Regions from separate parts of the Homo sapiens genome. Here region 1 is linked to region 2. The links are contacts of gene promoters, found by promoter capture Hi-C in human tissues and cell types (Jung and others, 2019). All regions are on one chromosome and are shown on one strand. Each heading gives the region's core, a stretch centred on a gene start or on the middle of the fragment in contact. The rest is flanking DNA. Distances are from core to core; before and after follow the strand shown. Region 1 overlaps LOC107986860 (endogenous retrovirus group K member 19 Env polyprotein-like). Region 2 holds the start of GIMAP7 (GTPase, IMAP family member 7).

The links. The method cuts DNA at HindIII sites, captures the fragments that hold promoters and counts their contacts. A contact is called where the count stands out against the background at its distance.
Region 1: a fragment that was not itself captured here is called in contact with the fragment with the promoter of GIMAP7 in region 2 in 1 of the 25 tissues and cell types used here (psoas muscle).

The regions. Positions count from the first base shown.
Region 1 is chr7:150,546,245-150,549,920 of GRCh38, reverse strand. It overlaps LOC107986860 (endogenous retrovirus group K member 19 Env polyprotein-like), which reads left to right. Exons shown (of 2, transcript XM_017012936.2): 2 at 344-846. The coding sequence ends at 381. Among named protein-coding and RNA genes, the nearest start is that of GIMAP4, 19 kb to the left of the region's middle. The HindIII fragment of the contact is 5,501 bases long and covers 1-3,676 here.
Region 2 is chr7:150,513,193-150,516,861 of GRCh38, reverse strand. GIMAP7 (GTPase, IMAP family member 7) reads right to left here and starts at 1,990. Exons shown (of 2, transcript NM_153236.4): 1 at 1,917-1,990. It also overlaps the pseudogene STRADBP1. RefSeq lists enhancers at 1,839-2,098, 2,109-2,268. The HindIII fragment of the contact is 14,588 bases long and covers 1-3,669 here.

The DNA of each region.
Region 1 (3,676 bases), core at 992-3,491, 33 kb before region 2:
GCATTTATGAGGATTGCTAACCCAACATCAGGCAGAACAATAATTACTTACACAAAACTGAACAAATAGAGGACTGAAATAATTTTATGACTTCCTTGGTTGTAACATTGCTAATTCTTTTTGTGTTCTGTTTTCCAGAGTCAAGAAAACTTTTTTCTTTTGAGCTATTTATAGCTTACAACAAATTGAGTGAAGTATACTATTATAAGCAAAAATGTGAAGGATTTATCTTTCTCTCTACCTGATTTCTTCAGAATTTAGAAACTATTTGTGAACATTCTTAATTTATGGCAATATAATTATTTATATAAGTTTAATAATAATCTGTTTTCTTTTATAACAGGAATCAATTGGAGACTTGTTATTTTACCGAGGCTGTGAGAGAAATGGCATATTTTCAGATATGTCCAGATTACTTTGAGGAATTAAGGTTGACTTTTTAGACCCGAAAGGAAGCCTCTTGGAAAGACTGGCCTGGCACTTTTTCTATGCAGTTGCTTTACAAGGTTCCTGACCTGTGGTCAGTAAAGAATGTCACTTTATGACAGGCCCAGAAATCTCAAGTTATTTTGGGACTTTGAGAAGAAACAACTTCACACAATTCGTATGGGTATCACAGGCAATCTGATAAATCCCTGACTTGAATAGCTTTGAGAGGCCTTTCAAATCAGAGATTCCTTATGAAAAGTTCAAACAAAGCCAATCAAAAAAGCAAAACGTTATTCTTGCTGCACTTTATGCAAATAATTAGACCACATTTAACCAGACTAAAATCTACTTTGCACACAAATTAGTTTTATTATAATTTGTATCTGGTACAAAAAGGGATCCAGAGAGAGAGAGAGAGAAAGAGAGAGAGAGAGAAAGAAGGAAAGAAAGAAAGAAAGAAAGAAGAAAGAAGGAAAGAAAGAAAGAAAGAAAGAAGAAGGAAAGAAAGAAAGAAAGAAAGAAAGAAAGAAAGAAAGAAAGAAAGAAAGAAAGAAAGAAATTGTATTTCAAAAGAAACCTATAACATACCTGTCATTAGATTCTAGCCTTGAACACTGTTTTTGGTTTTTATTATTTGACAACTCATTAAAGAAGAAAAAACTCATAATTTTCTTTTTTCTTTAAAGTATTTAATTATTTATTTATTTTTATTATACTTTAAGTTCTGGGATACATGTGCAGAACGTGCAGGTTTGTTACATAGGTATCCATACGCCATGGTGGTTTGCTGCACCTATCAACCTGTTGCCTACATTAGGTATTTCTCCTAATGCTATCCCTCCCCTTGCCCCCAACCTCCTGACAGGCCCCAGTGTGTGATGTTCCCCTCCCTGTGCCCATATGTTCTCATTGTGCAACTCCCACTTATGAGTGAGAATATGTGGTGTTTGGTTTTCTATTTCTCTGTTAGTTTGCTGAGAATGATAGTTTCCACTTTCATCCATGTCCCTGAAAAGACATGAATTCATTCTTTTTTATGGCTGCATACTATTCCAAGCATATATGTGCCTCATTTTCTTTATCCAGTCTATCATTGATGGGCCCTTGGGTTTGTTCCAAGTCTTTGCTGTTGTGAATAACGCTGCAATAAACATACGTGTGCATGTGTCTTCATAGTAGAATGATTTATAATCCTTTGGGTATATACCCAGTAATGGGATCGTTGGGTTAAATGGGATTTCTAGTTCTAGATCCTTGAGGAATTGCCACACTGTCTTTCACAATGGGTGAACCAATTTACACTCCCACCAACAGTGTAAGAGCATTTCTGTTTCCCCACATCCTGTCCAGCATCTATTGTTACCTGACTTTTTAATGATCACCATTCTAACTGGCATGAGATGGTATCTAATTGTGGTTTTGATTTGCATTTCTCTAATTTTTTATGTTTGTTCGCTGCATAAATGTCTTCTTTTGAAAAATGTCTGTGCATATCTTTTGCCCACTTTTTGATGAGGTTTTTTTTTCTTGTAAATTTGTTTAACTCCCTTGTAAATTCTGGATATTAGACCTTTGTCAGATGGAGAGATTGCAAAAATTTTCTCCCATTCTGTAGGTTGCATGTTCACACTGACAATAGTTTTTTTTTTTTTTTTTTTTTTTTTTTTTGCTGTGCAGAAGCTTTTTAGTTTACTTAGATCTCATTTGTCAATTTTGGCTTTTGTTGCAATTGCTTTTGGTGTTTTAGACATGAAGTCTTTTCCCATGCCTATGTCCTGAATGGTATTGCTTAGGTTATCTTCTAGGATTTTTATGGTTTTAGGTCTTACATTTAAATCTTTACTCCATCTTGAGTCAATTTTTGTATAAGGTATAAGGAAGGGGTCCAGTTTCTGTTTTCTGCATATGGCTAACCAGTTTTCCCAACACCGTTTATTAAATAGAGAATCCTTTCCCCATTGCTTGTTTTTGTCAGGTTTGTTGAAGATCAGATGGTTGTAGATGTGCAGTGTCATTTCTGAGGCCTCTGTTCTGTTCCATTGGTCTATATATCTGTGTTGGTACCAGTACCATGCTGTTTTGGTTACTGTAGCCCTGTAGTATAGTTTGAAGTCAGGTAGCATGATGCCTTAAGCTTTGTTCTTTTCGCTTAGGATTGCTTTGTCTATAAGGGCTCTTTTTTGGTTCCATATGAAATTTAAAGTAGTTTTTTTCTAATTCTGTGAAGAAAGTCAATGGTAGCTTCATGGGAATAGCATTGAATCTATAAATTACTTTGGGCAGTATGGCCACTTATAAGACATTGATTCTTCCTATCCATGAGCATGGAATGTTTTTCCATTTGTTTGTGTGCTCTCTTATTTCCTCCAGCAATGGTTTGTAGTTCTCCTTGAAAAGGTCCTTCACATCTCTGTAAGTTGTATTCCTAGGTATTTTATTCTCTTTGTAGTAATTGTGAATGGGAGTTTGCTCATGATTTGGCTGTCTATTATTGGTGTATAGGAATACTTGTAATTTTTGCACATTGATTTTCTATCCTGAGACATTGCTGAAGTTGCTTATCATCTTAAAAAGTTTTGGGGCTGAGATGATAGGGTTTTCTAAATAAACAATCATGTCATCTGCAAACAGAGATAATTTGACTTCCTCTCTTCCTATTTGAATATCCTTTATATCCTTCTCTTACCTGATTGCCCTGACCAGAACTTCCAATACTATGTCGAATGGGAGTTGTGAGAGAGGGCATCCTTGTCTTGTGCACCTTTTCGAAGGGAATGCTTCCATCTTTTGCCCATTCAGTATGATTTTGGATGTGCGTTTGTCATAAATAGCTCCCATTATTTTGAGATATGTTCCATCAATATCTAGTTTATTGAGAGTTTTTAGCATAAAGTGTGTTGAATTTTGTCGAAGGCTTTTTCTGCATCTATTGAGATAATCACGTGGTTTTTGTCATTGGTTTTGTTTATGTGATGGATTACATTTATTGCTTTGCATATGTTGAACCAGCCTTGCATCCCAGGGATAAAGCTGATGTGATCGTGGTGGATAAGCTTTTTAATGTGCTGCTAAATTTGATATGCCAGTATTTTATTGAGGATTTTTGCATCGATGTTCATCAATGATATTGGCCTGAAATTTTCTTTTTTTGTTGTGTCTCTGTCAGGTTTTAGTATCAGGATGATGCTGGCCTCATAAAATGAGTTAGGGAGGAATCCCTCTTCTTCTATTGTTTGGAATAGTTTGA
Region 2 (3,669 bases), core at 741-3,240:
ACAAAGTCAAACTTTAATCTGATCCAACCTCCCCATTCATATAAATTCACACAAAACACTGGAGCTAGAAGCGAATGTTAAATGACATTGTTAGGATGCAATCAGCAGTATGAATACTGCCCAGTTCTGTTGGACAAAAGACCTTCCCTTCCTTAAACAAAGAAATTTAACACAAAGAAACAAGGAAGGTGAAAACCTACACATTAAGTGAAACATAAGAGATGTCAAACAATTGTAATGTATGAATTTTACTTAGATCCTACCTCAAACAATTTTAAAAATTATGAGATCTTCAGGGAAATCTGAATACAACTGGTAGTATTAAAATTTATAGTTGCCTTTTGAAGGCTGTTTATGAAATTGTGGAAATGTTTTTAAATGGTCTTTATCTTTCAGAGACACATACTCAAATATTTACTGATAAAATGATGTAATGTCTGACATTTGCTTCAAAATAATCTGTGATAGAGTTGAGAATAGGAGCAGATATTTGAACAAGACTGGCATAAATTGATAACTGTGAGATTTTAATATAGGTACATGGAAGTTCCTTATATTGTTTTTACCTTTGAATAAGTATAAATTTTTCACAAATAAAAAAATTAACCCATGTATAGTGTAACCACTATCGAGCAGAGACTGCATATCAGAACACCCTGATAAAACATGTTTTGTATATCTCGTTTATTCTTCAAAAATACTCTACAGTGAAACTAATTTTATTATTCTAATTTTTTAAATGAGGAAGCTGGTGTGGCTCAAAAATTCTGGGAAACATGCCCCTGGTCACTGTGCTAAGAGGTATTGGGCAGAGAAGACATTCGATTCAAAGTCTGTCTGAATCTACCATGCTCACTCTTAACCGTGCACTCTACTGCCTGTTCTTGGCTACTCTCAGGCCATGATTCTAAATTTTCATTGACATGGCACAGAGATAGACCAGTGGAGGGCAAAGGAGATGATCCACGCTTTCTGCAAAAAGGTGAGCTGGGAGCCAGCCTGTTATAAGGGAACCGTGAGGAGGGCTCCGCATTTCTCGTGGACTTTTCCATCTCTCTCATATTGAGAAGCCAAACGTGAGAGAGATGGTCAGAAATATCACTTTAAAACTTTCTCAAGTTTTAAAACTTTCTCAAGTGGTTCCTGGAAGATCCAGAGGACCTCCAGCTAAGAGAAAGGCTGAGAAATGACAAAAGCATTTACAACAGAGGTGAACAGTTCTAAACTGTGGCCAGACCCACCGGTTCTAGAAAATTTCGTAGCTCCTTGAGATCCAGTTCCCTCTGCTATAAAAAAGGAAAATAAAACCAATCTTGCAGGGTTGTCCTTAGGCTTTCATAGAGTGATTTCTATAAAGGTCTTTTATGGCAACTCTTTTTGTACTGAATGGCGCAGCAGCCCCACATGTTACACTGTTAGGGACACAGCTTGTCTCTGCTTAATGCTGGAAAAAGTCAGCAGACTGAATTCTAGTGTTCCTCCGCCATGAGTGATCTGGGTACCCCTTGGAGAATCATCAAAATCTCTGGGATTGGGATTCTGATTCTTTTTCTGTAAGAAGAGGGACTTAGACAGGTGGACTCTAAATTGCCTGTCACCTTTACAAATCTGTCTTAGGAGCCCTTAATTTCTTATGAAGGTTATCAGGCAACACTCTGTGTCTATCACAACAGCCAGTGAGTGGAGGGTGCACTATGCAGCCATGTGTGTCCTGTTACATATGAGATGCATGGGCTCCATGCAAACAAATCTCCTCACTCCCCTTCTACTCACCCCTCCCACAGCACCTTCTATGCAGTGCTGCTTAGCACAGTGCCTTGTCCCTCCTAAGGGCAGAGTCCACTCCAGCCACACACCCTGTCCCCACTGCCCTTCGCAGCCCAATAGCACCAGACCCTCTTCTCAGCCAGGCTCACCTTCTCTTGAACAAGTTGAATTTTCAGGTTTTCTCCAAGGAGGCTGCTTGAGCTGTTGCTTTTGCTTTTACTGTGAGTTAAAAGTGTCTGTACCGCCACCAAAACCTCTCAGTCAGGAAGCTCAGGCTGGGTGGAGCCACACACACAAAAATGTTTGTCTTTAAAGAAACAGAAATACGGCTCCATAATCTGGTGATTGCTTCAGTTTTGCCCGGTTGAAACGTTTTGCCCATGGGCCTGCTATAAACACCATTTCCAAAGCTACATTTTTCGCTTCAGGTTATAGTGATGGATGCAAAAGAGCCTTATTAAATGACCCAAATATTGCCTAGAAAACAAGGCACAGGACCTGATTGTCTTCCCAGGGTGGAGTGGGAGGCTGAGGGGTGATTTGGGGAAGAAGAGAGACAGGCATATACCTTGCCATTTCCAAGCGTAGAGCTGGGGGTTCTTAGTGATTGTATAATATGGGTTTTTTATTATAGTCTTTCAGGAAGGCCTCAAGTTACTCATTCAAAAGTTAACAGCACTGAGGCTCAAAGGCAGAGTCTAAATCATTAGGAACCAAGGGAAAAAAAGGAAGGTGACGCCTGGAAAAATAATCTGCCCATGAACACATAGTTTCTCTAGTTGCTTTTCGTATAATTCTTCCAAGTTTGAAAATATGCATGACCTAACAAGTAAAGATGCACCCAAGGAATAGATCCTACATCCCTTCCCCACCTTCCTCTCTACCCCACATCTTCCTACCCCAGTCTCAGGCAGAGACAGATTTTCCAGAATTTACCCAGTGGATGGTTCCAATCTGCTCTGGAGGTTTCTTGAGGTGAGAGGCAGGTTCCCAAAGCTCTCACGGTTGACCAGATATTCCAGTTGGCTACGTAAGAATACTATGTTTAGAGTTCCAAGCCCACAGCCCCTGTCGCGGCCTTGCCACCCTCCAGCGCCCCACGCCAGGAGTGGGCCTAGAGCGCTCGCCTTGCCCCTCTGTGATCCGGGCTCCGGCACCCGCCCAGGTCCGCACCACTGGCAGCCTGTAGGGAGTCGCTGGCCGTCGTCGCCGCTAAGTAGGATATATCTGCATCTTCAAAGGAAGATAAAACAAAAGCCTTCTTTGGAATATTTGGATTTTTGTCACTTTCTGTGAGCTTTAGTTCAAGAACACAAGTTGAATCACTCAAACATGAAAAACAAGTCTGAAACCAGTATCCATCAATACTTGGTCGAAGAGCCAACCCTTTCCTGGTCGCCTCCATCCACTAGAGCCAGTGAAGTAGTATGTTCCGCCAACGTTTCTCACTACGAGCTCCAAGTAGAAATAGGAAGAGGATTTGACAAGTTGACTTCTGTCCATCTAGCACGGCATACTCCTACGGGAACGCTGGTAACTACAAAAATTACAAATCTGGAAAACGGCAATAAAGAACGCCTGAAAGTTTTACAGAAAGCCATGATTCTATCCCACTTTTTCCGGCATCCCAATATTACAACTTATTGGACAGTTTTCACTGTTGGCAGCTGGCTTTGGGTTATTTCTCCATTTATGGCCTATGGTTCAGCAAGACAACTCTTGAGGACCTATTTTCCTGAAGGAATGAGTAAAACTTTAATAAGAAACATTCTCTTTGGAGCAGTGAGAGGATTGAACTATCTCTACCAATATGGCTGTATTCACAGGAGAATTAAAGCCAGCCATATCCTCATTTCTGGTGATGGCCTAGTGACCCTCTCTGGCCTGTCCCATCTGCATAGT